2 separate regions of the Homo sapiens genome follow, and region 1 is linked to region 2. Evidence: promoter capture Hi-C in human tissues and cell types (Jung and others, 2019). All regions are on one chromosome and are shown on one strand. The core of a region is centred on a gene start or on the middle of the fragment in contact, and the rest is flanking DNA. Distances in the headings are between cores, read along the strand shown.

Region 1 (6,474 bases), core at 3,380-5,879, 1.1 Mb before region 2:
CCATCATAAAGTTCCTCATCAACTTTTCACCTAATGGTTTTGGTATTACTTTACATGTAAAGGAGAGGCAACATATAAATGCTTCTTTCTCTTTATTTTTTTATTTTTCAGACTGAGTTGATGCTCTAGCAACAAATGATGACTGATTTTTTGTTTGTTTTCCAACACAATTATGAACCAAGGATTTGTTTCATTCTATCACTGTCATCATTTTTTTTAATGATCACACTGTCCCATCCTATCCCTGGACAACAGAGCTGCCCCCTAAGATGGCTCCTGAGGCCCTGCTGGACCATAATAATCTTTGGTAACTTTCTTCCTTTTAGGTGTGACAAGATGCCTCAGGTTCATTGTGAATATTTCCTGCTGCATATCTGGAATCAGTCATCTCTTCAAAGAACCACAGTTCCTTTAAATGACAACGGTGTGCAGGAACCACATTCGTGGCAACAGAGGTGTTTATTGCTGCTAAGCTTTTTCAGCAGACAGAGCTAAAAAAATGTGTATACTTTTTTAGAGAGGAAAAATAAATCTATGCTCATATTGATAATTCTAATTCAAAATAAAGAACACATGCATTTTTATAAACCTTCTTTGATTTTATAATAGTATGTTAAAGTCATTAGGAAAAGAACATTGCTTCACTGTCTAATAAGTTTTTGGTTTAATTTCCATCGTTTCTTTCTGAAAATATACACAGCTATGTGTGTACGTGTATATGTGTGTGAATGTGCATATCTTATAGATTACTCCATGGTAATCTCTACTCCACAGAATGATTACATAGAAATGGTCTCCATTTTGTTGTAGATGATTAATATTTCACTGTCTGGATGCACCACAGTTGATTCAATCAGTCCCTCACTGATGACACTTAGGTTCTTTCTAGTCTTGGACATATGTCATTTTCTGTTTTGGCAAAGAACCTTTGGGCTATTCCTTAGAGGTGGGATTGCTGCCCTGAAAGGGAAGTGTGTAGGGCTATATCATTCAGCAATCCCACCAACACCAGGGCCTGCTCCCCACATCTGGCCAACACAGTATGCTGCCAAATCTTTGTATTTTTGCCAATCTGTGGGCAAGAGATGGATTTCATTCTAGGTATTGCTGTTTTTAACATAAACTGCAAGTAGGGGATCTTTTGTTTTGAACCCTTAAAATTGGGATTAAAAGGTTCCAAGAAATATAAAGGAAGGAGCAAGTGTAAATGTGCGATGTTTTTAGCTGACTCTTACTCTTCTCTAATGAAGAATGTGAAGAGTCCCTGGCAGGGGAAGAAGAGGATGGCTGGTTATTATACCTTCGACACAGGCTTAACTTTACTGATAGTGATGCAATATAGACTTGGAGAAAGACCATCACATTGAACCCCATGCATCCATCCTAGATTTACCCTCTGGGCCCCACTGTTTCCTCCTTGGGCTACAGTGATTCATTTCTTTGTGACATGGTTTTGGGTCCTCCTAAATTCTACTCTCCACCTACAACTGTAATTAAAATTTCCTCAGAGTATAAGTAGATACAAGAGAAAAAAGGAACAGAATAAGATTATGGTGACTAAAACTGAAATTTCTAACCAAAATTAAATTTAAGCGTAAATCACTCATTCCTTGCAAACTTCTAATATGACACCAAACCAACCTTTAAGAAGAGAGGGCACTGGTTTTGAGCCTGGGGACACGATGACCAAAACCACTGGGGAAGATTCTCAGCTTTGGCAGTTGATACAAAATACCCAAGGGCCAGGGGCTGCTGCTTTAGCTCCTCTGGTGCTTCTCTAGAAAGAAGACGCTCACCCTGGCTCTGAAAAACAAAAATCCCAAAAACATGATCAGCATTTATCTTAAAGCTTGAAAAATGAACTTTCATCAGTTCACTCTGCACACTGCAGTGAGTGATCCCCTTTGTGGCAGCATCTCACAGAAAACAACAGGTGACTGAGAAAGGTAAGCGGGGCCAGCATCGTCTTTGCTGCACACATAGAGAAGATACCAGCAAAACTGACAGCCTCAGTCAAGTAAGTACAGATTTATTTGCTTGGGTTTCTTTTCTAAGGGATGTAAGATCTATTTCATGGCATTATGATGTAACAAACTAAAATGGAAAGATTACAATCTCTGACAGCAGAAGGCTCTACCACACGCAGGTGCTCTTTCACCAGCAACCAGCCAAAGACACACAAGCGCACCAGCCTGACCAGGACAATGTGACACCAGTATGTGCACAGCACAAAAGTTCCTGAGCTGCCAGTAGTGCAAGATCTGCTCACAGAGAAGCCATGTTTTCATTTGCAGCATTCCCCTTAATAAGAGACTCCTGGAAGAGGCTATGTTTTGCTGCAACTGACACTTTTCTTATCTTTTAATTCTTTTAGCTAGCTTCATCAATTGAAAATGTACCTTTCATGCAAGCAATAAGTAATGCATTTGTTTTTAAAAGTCTCTGTTTATGCTGGGTGCGGTGGCTCACACCTGTAATCCCAGCACTTTGTGAGGCTGAGGCGGACAGATCACTTGAGGTCAGAATTTCGAGACCTGCCTGGCGAACATGGTGAAACCCCACTCTACTAAAAATACAAAAATTAGCCAGGCACAGTAGTGCACGCCTGTAATCCCAGCTACTCAGGAGGCTGAGGCAGGAGAATCCCTTGAACCCAGGAGGCAAAGGTTGCAGTGAGCCAAGATCATGCCACTGCACTCTAGCTTGAGCAACAGAGTGAGACTCTGTCTCAAAAAAAAAAAAAAAAAAAAAAAAAACCTTCTGTTTGGAAGGAAAAAATAATCTGCAGCTACTACATCAAACTGTATCAATTCTGAGTTGGTTAAAAAAATAAAAAATTTACTGCCACTTTGAACGCATTCTCTTCCCTGCTGTAATGTCTTAACTGGATATCAAAGAATGTTTAATGGTTCAGAAAAAGGAAATGCTGAAAGCCTCTTGGAGGTCACCTGGCTGCAGGTGCTCAGGATTGAAAAAGGCCACCTGGCTAGCTTCAGAACAGCACTGTCTAAATCATGGCATTGAATTAAAGACTTTAGTGCTTAAGGCTCCAAAAAAAGGGAGAAATACAGCATACCTCTGTTTCTTACACAACTAACATTACAACTTCAATAACCAATTCTTTGTTAATGCATAAACTGAATTACAAAAACAGGTACTGGGAGGTAGTTGCTATTATTCCATTTCACAGATAAGGTAACTCAGGCTAAGAGAGGTGAAGTTAGCTTGTCCAAGGTCACAAAGCCCGTAGGCCCAGAGCTGCAATTCAAAGTTGTCTTTAACAGACTGTGGGGCATGCATTCTTAGCTGCTATGCTACTTGCCTCCAGAATTCAAATTAAACCCAACTTTAAAAAAATAGACAATGTAACATTTGTGTTTTTCGTTCCTATCACAACCGTTTCCCATGAACAAATTATCATTAACTGGTAAGTACTGCAAAGGAAACAAAGACCCTTAAAACCCCTTCCTTCCAGAAGAGGGTAATAGGGGCAGGTATAACATGGGAACAGTCTGAGATGCCCTCCTCTGGTCTTACCTGCTCTGTGACTAATCTAAGCTATAAACCTTTTTTCTCTCCAGCGTCTAATAAATTCAGTGCTGGGAATAAAAGTCCCCCCCCCCCCCCGATGAAAACTGAAGTCCTTTATGTCCATCTTTGTGTCTAAATAAATGAGTGTGAGCAGGCTGCTTATGCTTGTTCAGTCTAAGATACCAGACATAGCTATTTTTCAAAGTCTTAACTCCCCAGTCTCATAACATTTTAAATAAACAGTACAATACAGTGATGCAGCAGGAATCATCTAACTGAAGCAAAGTTACCACAAGCTGTGGCAGAACCCTCTAACTCTTAAATCTTCTGTTGTTCATCCACCTCCAATATCCCTGAGATATTTAAAGATGAAACCAGTTGTAAGCTCTGGTTTTTTCCTTAATACTCTGGCGTTAACCTGGACACATCTGTAAAATCAATCTCCTGGCGGCTCTTGCCATTCCTGCAGGTCGGCTAGAAAGAAGAAGGCTGCAAAATGACTAAGCCAGGACACGCAAAGAGCACGGCAGGCTCCTTTCAGAACAAGCCATCACCAACGTGTTCTTCAATCAGCACAATTACTCTGCATGTTGAGTAAGTACGGTTGTTGTACTAATCTCTTAAAAGCCACTATTTTGGCAAAAAATAAAACCATTAAAAAACTGGGAAGCAGCAAGCAACTAGAACTAATTTTTGCTAAGAAAACAATGCATTAAAAACCCTTGCATCTGTAATAGGACTATTCTTCTGATAAAACTTATTCATCAGAAATAATAACATATTTATTTCAAATTCCTGCCTTCTATTCAAAATGGAACCATAGTCAGTTTCCCACACTTATTTCTCTTGTACCAAGGACCCAGACCATCAAGAACTGTGCAAGTAGGAACAAGATGATCAGATGTCCAGTGGATTATCTTCCTAAAGGCTATGGTTGTCTTAAACAACGTACTCCAAATCATCCTTACCCGACTATGCTGGAAGTGAGAGCCCACACCAATTCCAGAAGGAGAGCCTGGGGAGGGTACTGGGGAAGAGTTGGGAGAGGAATGGAGGTTCCCAGTCATTAATATGCCAATATCATTGTCCATATCATCTGGGAATGGAAGGTCAACAAACATATCATCTAGAGGGAAGGGGGGAAAAAAAGCACAAAAATTAAAAAGATAGTCCACATATCAATATCATAATAATCCAACCTAACCTATGTCATGTTTTGTTGGCATATGGCTATTATGGACACACACTGTTAATAACTTAGATTCAGTTAGGACCTACTGAGTGCAAGCTATTACAAATTATTCTTTCATTTTGTACTCTCTCCAATGATCTCCTTATGTACAGTATTAACAGAATGCAATAAAGAATATAACATAAAAACCTACACTCTGCATAGCCTCCAAAGACACATAAAAGTATGGTAAAAGAGCTAAAGCAACAATTTAATCATTAAAATTGACACCATTCAAAAACACAGTAGACTCCATCTATGTATCCACTTAGCATCTAAAACACCAGAGGCTGAATGAATGCATGTTAATGAGTGTGAACTTGCCCTGAAAATGGAGACCTATTCCAAAAGCAAATCAAAGCACAATGTTTTCTCTCTTTTTTTTTTTTTGAGATGGAGTCTCCCTCTGTTGCCCAGGCTGGAGTGCAGTGGCACGATCTCGGCTCACTGCAACCTCTGCCTCCTGGGTTCAAGTGATTTCTGGCTAATTTTTGTATTTTTCATAGAGATGGGGTTTCACCACGTTGGCCAGGCTAGTCTCAAATTCCTGACCTCAAGGGATCCGCCTGCCTCAGCCTCCCAAAGTGCTAGGATTACAGGCATAAGCCACCGTGCCTGGCCCAGCATTTTCATTAAGAAATCCTCCCCAACATTATAAAAGTAAGGTACACTCACAGCAGAAAATTTGTAAAGAAAAGTATAAAAAGTGAAAACCATCACCTAGAACCCAATCACCATGATCATTTTTTTCTATGATTCTTTTATTTTCTCATATATTTGTTATTCTATTGTAATCATACCAGATATAAAATTTGGTATCCTTTTCCTCATCCCATTTACCATAAATAAACACTGGTAGGTGTTATAATTTCTTCAAAAACAATGCAAATGGATGCTGTGTTGAGTGTTTTATAGTTTATAAATAATCATTTTTTTAAACAAATACCTTAACAGCTATTCAAAAATTTCCATTAAGAATAATCAAATAAGGGTTTCTCTATAGCAAATTAGATTGCCATAGACTAGCTAAAGGAAGGTGCTCTCTTCATATTGCTTAGTACTTCACACATTTCAAATCACATCAGCAAATATTTATTGAAAGAGTGGCACCTAAGTACAGAACAGTGCCACGCAGGTATTATTTTTTGCCTTTAATGAAAAATGGAAGAAAGTTAATTGCCCAAACAAGGAAAATATTTATTTGGTCTTGTTAATTGTGCAGATAAATCAAAGCTTTAAGACCAAATAGATTCTCAAACCTTCTATCCCCTCTTTATAGTTCCTGGGTTGTTTATTACAACACAGAAAAGCCATGCGGCAGCCCAGTGATTCCATACTCCGGCTCTGCCCTGCATGAAGGTGAGCACTATCCATACAGGTCTTCTACTCACCATTGTTGGGGCTAAACCCATCTTCATTGGGGTAGTTGGCTGGAGCCACCTGGATGGTTGATGATGTTGGGAACACCAAGATGTGTGTACAAGAAGCATCTTGAGGGGTGTTGAGCTGAGATGACTGCATGTTCAGTGCAGTACTTCGGCCAAAAACAGAGCCCATTGTGACAGCATCTTTAAAGAAAAAAATAGAATTATATCAATCAATGAACAACCCCAGAAATGAGGTTTTCAGAGGGCCTGATCTGGAGTGGTATGAGTCTGATGAAAATGCCATGATAAATACACATTCAAAATTGAGTCCAATTGTTTAAATAT
Region 2 (6,610 bases), core at 4,111-6,610:
CACCAGACACCACTTGGCTGCTGTCACCACGGGTGCGTGGGGAAGGTGAGCTCAATCACACCCCCGGGACGCCTTCGCTCGGGCTTTTCATATGAATCTTAACAATCTAGATGTGAGCCTTCTTGGCTCAGAAAAGATTCCTGGGAATACTCGTTTCCGGTTTAAATCAATCAATGAGACTCTAACAGGCAGGGAGAAGGAAGGTGGGCACGCAGACCTGATGATGCCCTGTGTGGCAAGCTGCTGCTCAGGCATATTTTTGGTGGGGCTGGGGAGATGCTGGGAGGGTTGGCAGCCGAGGACAGCTGGTGAGGGTGGCACTGGGTTTTCCAGTGGCTGCCTGTTCCTGAACAATACACCTTGAGTTTTAAAGTCCCCAGGGACTGTGCCCCTTTAACGTGAGCCTCTTATGCTCTCACTGAACCACCAAGTGCATACAAAGGTGAACAAGACACGTTCTTTCTGCTCTAGGGAGCTCCAAGTTTCGAAGGGGTGGCAGGTGACAGAGTTGACAAGTATAACATGGTGTGATGCCTGCTATTGCGGGCTCCAGGAGCGCTGAGGATGGGTGTTTAACCCTTAAAGGTCGGATGGAGAGATGGCTTTCTGGATGGGAGCAGCAGGTAAGCCAACCCCTGAACAATAATGAGCATTCGTTTCATAAAGAGACAGGGTTAACGCTGTGCGCGGTGGCTCACACCTGTAATCCCAGCACTTTGGGAGGCAGAGGCAGGCGGATCACTTAAGGTCAGGAGTTTCAGACCAGCCTGGCCGACATGGTGAAACCCTGTCTCTACTAAAAATACAAAAATTAGCCGAGCATGGTGGCGGGCACCTGTAATCCCAGCTACTCACGAGGCTGAGGCAGGAGAATTGCTTGAACCCAGGAGGCAGAGGTTTCAGTGAGCTGAGATCGCGCCACTGCACTCCAGCTTGGGCAACAAGAGTGAAAATTCATCTCAAAAAAAAAAAAAAAGAGAGAGAGACAAGGTTAAGAGGAAAGGTTTGAGTTTGTTTTTTCTTGTTTTTGTTTTTTGTGAGATGGAGTTCACTCTGTCGCCCAGGCTGGAGTACAGTGGCATGCTCTCAGCTCACCGCAACCTCCGCCACCCAGGTTCAAGCGATTCTCCGACCTCAGCCTCCCGAGTAGCTGGGATTACAGGCGTCTGCCACCGCGCACAGCTAATTTTTGTAGTTTTAGTAGAGACAGGGTTTCACTATCTTGGCCAGGCTGGTCTTGAACTCCTGACCTCATGATCTACCTGCCTTGGCCTCCCAAAGTGCTGGGATTATAGGCGTGAGCCACCACGCCCGGCCTAGACCTTACCCTGGGTGGAGACAGAGAAAGGCTCCCGTACGTAAACACCTGATTGTACACATCAAATGAAAACAGTGCTCCAGGCAGAGGAACAGCTTTTGTGCAAAGGCCTGAAGGTGAGAAAAAATACGGGAGTCTTTTCCTATCCCTTCTTGGTTCCTAGAAATTCAAGTGGCAGCTACACACAGTGAAAGCATGCTGGCAGTAAGAAAGCAGTCTTGGGGCCAGGCATGGTGGCTCATGCCTGTAACTCCAGCGCTTTCAAGAGGCTGAAGTGGGAGGATCACTTTGAGGCCAGGAATTTGAGACTAGTCTGATCAACATGGCAAGACCCCTGTCTCTACAGAAAAATTTAAAATTAGCTGGTGTGGTGGCGCACACCTGCAGTCATAGCTACTGGGAAGGCTGAGGTGGGAGGATCGCTGGAGCCCAGGAGTTCGAGGTTGCAGTGAGCTTGATCATGCCCCTTGCACTCCAGCCTGGGTGAGAGAGCAAGACCCTGCCTCAAAAACTAAAAATTAAAAAAAACTGTAAAAAAAGAAAGTAGGCTTGGGGATCCCATGATCTCCAACTCCTCCACTTAGCAGCTGTGGGACTGCAGGCAAGCTGGTTTACCTCTCTAAGCCTCAGTTTCCTCACCTGTAAAATGGCCCTAACACTGCCTTCCTGGGGGATCATTACTATAAAGAGTGTTATGCAGAGAGCACCAGCGTGGAGCCTGATGCTCAGCAGGTGCTTGGGGAATTATGTTCATTATCACCAGCCTCAGCCTGACCTTCTGGTCCTTTCTGGATGGTGTTCTCAGAAAGGGACCAAGCTGATTCCTCCCCAGAAAGTCAGGGGTCATCTTGGTCCTCAGGGAGGCGGGGGAGTCAGCAGCCCTGTGGGCTCAGTCTGTCCTCTGGCCACCTTACCCTGAGGCTTTTCTCCCTTTTTCTCAGGGAAGATTCCCAAGGGAATGGCCTTGGAGGAAGGGCCCTGCCTGACCCACTGGGTCTCTGGGAGCTGACGTTCCCATGCCAAGCCGATCGTCTCGCACGTAACCTTATCAAATCCACACAATGACTTCAGGATCCAGGTGGGGGTACTGAGGCTCAGAGAAGTAAGATGACTTGCCCAAGGTCATGTAGCTCAGAGAGGTGGGACCAAGACTCAACTCTCAGCTATGGCTCGGAGCGACCAGGACATACAAGAGTGTTTAAAGCATGGTCAATAACAAACCATGTACATGTGTTTGGTCTAACTACTTCATGTATATTAACTCAATCCTTCCCAACAACTTCAAGGGAGGTACTATGACTATGCCCATTTTATAGTAGATAAAACTGAGGCTCAGAGAGCATAAGTGACTTGCCCAAGGTACCTGGCAAGGCCCCTGAAGCCAGGCTCCTGCCACAGCCTGAGCCCTGACGACAGCTGTGTCCTCATCTCATGCATTCTTATTTACTGTTGCTGGCTTGTCCCTGCCACAGGGCCTCTGCATTCGACGTCCCCTCGGCCCGAGATGCCCTTTCCACTGATTTGCACACCCCTGGCTCATTCTTACTTGGATTTCTGTTCCATTATCACCTCCTCAGGGAGGACCTCCGGATCCACCCTAAAGCTCCATTCTCATGCCACCCTGCTATGCCTCGTTCACAGTTTAACACCTGTCGGGCGTTTTGTTTACTGTGTGTCCCCCTCCAGGAACAGCAGCCTCTCCGAGTCATCTCTAAATCCCCAGCCCCTGGTCTATAAATATTTGCTAAGTGGGCAAAAGTGACCGAATTACGCAGTCCCTTTCGGAGGACTGGGGGCAACTTTCCACCTACCTAAAGTTCCACCTGCCTACTCTAGTCTAACCTCAGAACCTCCTCTCCGACCCTCTCCATCTCCCTTGGGTTATGAAGTCTGAGCTCTGGGCAGCAAGAAGGGAAGCCGCTGCAGCTACATCTAGGAAGGTTACAGAGCAGGAACACAGCATCTGTCATCCCAGTGGGAGGCTGGACCCAGGAAACTGACAAGACTCCCAGCATGCTCTGCAGCCCCTCCTCCCTGTCAAACCCACAACCAGGTGGAATTCCCGAGTGCCCCGTGGGCTGCCGGAGAGCCCACCCTTCCAACGGGGATCCCAGCCACAGAGAATGCCCATCGACACCCATCCAGATTCAAAGCAGTGGGAGGCGAGGAGAGGGCACATGAGAAATAATAAAAGCAGAGGAGACCCAAGCAAGTAAGAGCTAGAGGAATCCCTCCTTTCTCTCTCATATTAGTCTTCGGATTGAAGTGCATAAAACTTTTTGAGTAAGTAAAATATCCAACATAGTTCAAAATGAACATATAAAAACGTTTACGGAGAAAAAGCTCACTCTCCCTTCATCCCTTCCACTCCCCCCGCAACCCCCACCAAGCATCCATTCGTACTTTCTGGTGGATTCTTCCAGTCTGCAAATATAGCAATTACAAATGTATACTCTTATTTTCCCCTCTTTTTACATTTTCTATTTCTTTTTACTTTGCGGCTCCAGCTCAAAGGATCCTTTTTTAAAAAACAGAAAAAAGGGTACCATATTATATATGCTGAGCCACACCTTTTACTTCTTTAGTTGGATATTTCTATATCTCTACACACACAGAGATACAGATATAGACGTATAAGTGCGTGCATACACACACCAGTTATTAATGGTTTTCTGCAATTTTCATCCAGTTCTCCTGGAAAGGGGTATTTAGATTGGGGGTCAAGAGGGGTTGCTTTTCAGCTGACACACAAACAGCTGGGCCACCCTCTCTTGGTGATCAATACTGGACGCTGGTTCTCTGCACTTGAAGCAGGTGCCAGGAGCTAGCTCTTTCCCAAAATATCTGCAGCTCCCATTTCCTGAGCGTCTACCAGGTACTAGGAGAACTCTTACAACAGAGAAGGAAAGCTGAGAATCAGAGAGGTAAAGTGACTAGCCCAAGGTCACACAGCCAGGAAGTGCAGCTGGCAGGGTTCACAGCCGGTCTGTCGCTCGCCAAAGCCGGTTTGCCCACACACCTGGCCCCCGCGGTCTCCAGTCCACACCCTGGTCCACAGCCAGAGGCAGAACTGGCCATGCCGAGTTCAGGACCCAGGGCCAAGTCCCCAGCCCGGCTGAACTCGGGCAGAGAAGCGCTTTCTCCGCCATTTCCCTGCGGGCAGCTCGGCCAGGCCTCCCAGGGCTCCCCGCCTCCGGGCCGATGCGGGGCGCGCAGCCTTTGCTGGTCCCGGGAGACTCAGCGAACTCAGGGGAGGACGCTGGGCTCCGGGCAAAGTGCTCTGCGGCCGCTGCCTCGCTAAGTCTCCCAGCCACCCGCGGGGATGAGGCTGCCTGAACCCATTTTACAGATGCGAGGACGAAAGCAGGCGCCGGGCGCCGGCTCTCCCGACTAAGGTCACCCGGCCGGGGAGCGTCGGAGACCTGTTCCCACCCAGGTCCGCCGACTTCAAAACTTTCCGCTCTCGCGCTCACGAATGCAAACGACTCTCAGGTGTGGGGCGCGCGCGCCAGCGGGGGTGCCTGAGGGACTTGCCCGCCCGGCCTGAGGCACCTGCCCTGCGCTTGGGAAGCCTGGGCCCCGCTCCCTCCCCGGTCCGCAGTCCCCCGGCCAGGGAGTTCCCGGGCCAGTCCGAAGCTGAGCGGCTGCGGCACTGAGCATCGCCGCGGAGCTCCTCGCCGCAGCCCGCGAGGTGGCCAGCGGGGACCCATTTGAAAGAGGAGGAGACTGAGGCGCAGAGAGGGCCCGCCACTGGCCCAAGGTCACACAGCGCGGCGGCGGGCCGGGGTCCCCAACAGTGGCCGTTCGGAGGTCCCGCCCCGGTCCCCGCGCCGCCCCCCGCGGGTACTCACAGCCGGTCTTGCCCTCGAGCTCCCGCACCTCCTCAGACGCGGAGTGGGCAGCGCCCATGGTGCCCGCGGCGGGGGCCCCGGGGCGCGCGTCCCTCTCAGGCCCCGCACTGGCTTCGGCTGCGCAGCGGCGGGACTGGCCTCGGGTCCGGCCTCGGGTCGGGACGCCGGCGAAGGCTCGGAGCCGCGGGTTCCGCGTGGGGCCGGAGCGGGGCCTCATATAACGGCGGAGGGCGGCGCGCCGCGGTCCTAGCGCACGCCGGTTTCGCGCACTGCGCGGCTAGGGGAGCGCCCCGCCCCGCCCCGGCCCGGAAACCGCCGGGAAGGGGACCCCGGAGCCCACCGCTCTGGAGTCCCCGTTCGTGCAGCAGTGCTCACGTACCTCGTCCCTTCCGCACACCTGCTGGATCTGGAAGGAAGCAGGTGTGAGCAAATTTGGGGGCGTGGGTAGGAGGGGTGGGACCCCTGGGAGGTGCTATGCCCACTCCCAACCCATCCCACCTTACATCCTCCAGATCTTAGGAGGGAAACTCCACTGAGATAGTCAAGGAAGTCAGCGAGCATGAAATAGCTCTATGGAGAACAACAGTAATAATAATCCTATTTGAAAATGCACCATGCGCTTTGGTTTTTTCCAGGAAAGCCCCAGCACCTTCTGAGGTGAACACACCCACGTGGCGGCCCGTGTGGGCCCTGCACAGCCCGGTGGCTGAGAGGCACCTCAAACTGCAGGAGCGGGCTGGGCGCATGGCTCACGCCTGTAATCCCAGCACTTTGGGAGGCCAAGGCGGGCGGATCACTTGAGCTCATGAGTTCGAGACCAGCCTGGCCAACATGGTGAAACCCCGTCTCTACTAAAAACACAAAAATTAGCCAGGCGCGGTGGCACATGCCTGTAATCCCAGCTACTCCGGAGGCTGAGGCAGGAGAATCACTTGCACCTGGGAGGCAGAGGTTGCAGTGAGCTGAGATCTTGCCACTGCACTCCAGCCTGGGCGACAGAGCAAGACTCTGTCTCAAAAAACAAACAAACAAAAAAACAACTGCAGAAGTGGGCCCAGGAGGCTGCATTTGGGACAAACTGCTGGAGAGAAGGCAATGCCGGTGGTCCCCATGCCCATTAGGGAAGTTCTGGGTTAAGATGGCTTGAGGGGTTGGCTCTCCATCCAGTTGGGGTGACTGGGGCCGATGCTGTTGCCTGTGTAATGTGATTCCTCCTCCTTAAAATAAGGATAAGTTAATGAGATGTCCACCAGAGGGCCTGGCGTGGACACAGCACATGGCCACAGAGGCTGGTGGGCGCTATGGAATCTTGTCCCCTGGAGAGGCACACAGCCAGGGCAGAACATCAAGGTCAAGGCTCTCCTGAAGGCTCTGCAGTGCTTAGTGACACCACCATCAATGACCGTCAGGTATCAGGTCTGTTCTGAACGTTAGTCTCGAT

Evidence for each region. The method cuts DNA at HindIII sites, captures the fragments that hold promoters and counts their contacts. A contact is called where the count stands out against the background at its distance.
Region 1: a fragment that was not itself captured here is called in contact with the fragment with the promoter of TESC in region 2 in 1 of the 25 tissues and cell types used here (spleen).

What each region holds. Positions count from the first base shown.
Region 1 is chr12:115,964,441-115,970,914 of GRCh38, forward strand. It overlaps MED13L (mediator complex subunit 13L), which reads right to left. Exons shown (of 31, transcript NM_015335.5): 27 at 6,154-6,330; 28 at 4,500-4,657; 29 at 1,642-1,803. Among named protein-coding and RNA genes, the nearest start is that of LINC02463, 81 kb to the left of the region's middle. The HindIII fragment of the contact is 6,936 bases long and covers 1,162-6,474 here.
Region 2 is chr12:117,094,056-117,100,665 of GRCh38, forward strand. TESC (tescalcin) reads right to left here and starts at 5,361. Exons shown (of 8, transcript NM_017899.4): 1 at 5,170-5,361. The coding sequence starts at 5,227. It overlaps TESC-AS1 (TESC antisense RNA 1), which reads left to right and starts at 5,412. Exons shown (of 3, transcript NR_120464.1): 1 at 5,412-5,589; 2 at 6,398-6,585. RefSeq lists silencers at 4,757-4,856, 4,927-5,036, 5,097-5,616, 5,355-5,493, 6,360-6,577. The HindIII fragment of the contact is 11,228 bases long and covers 1-6,610 here.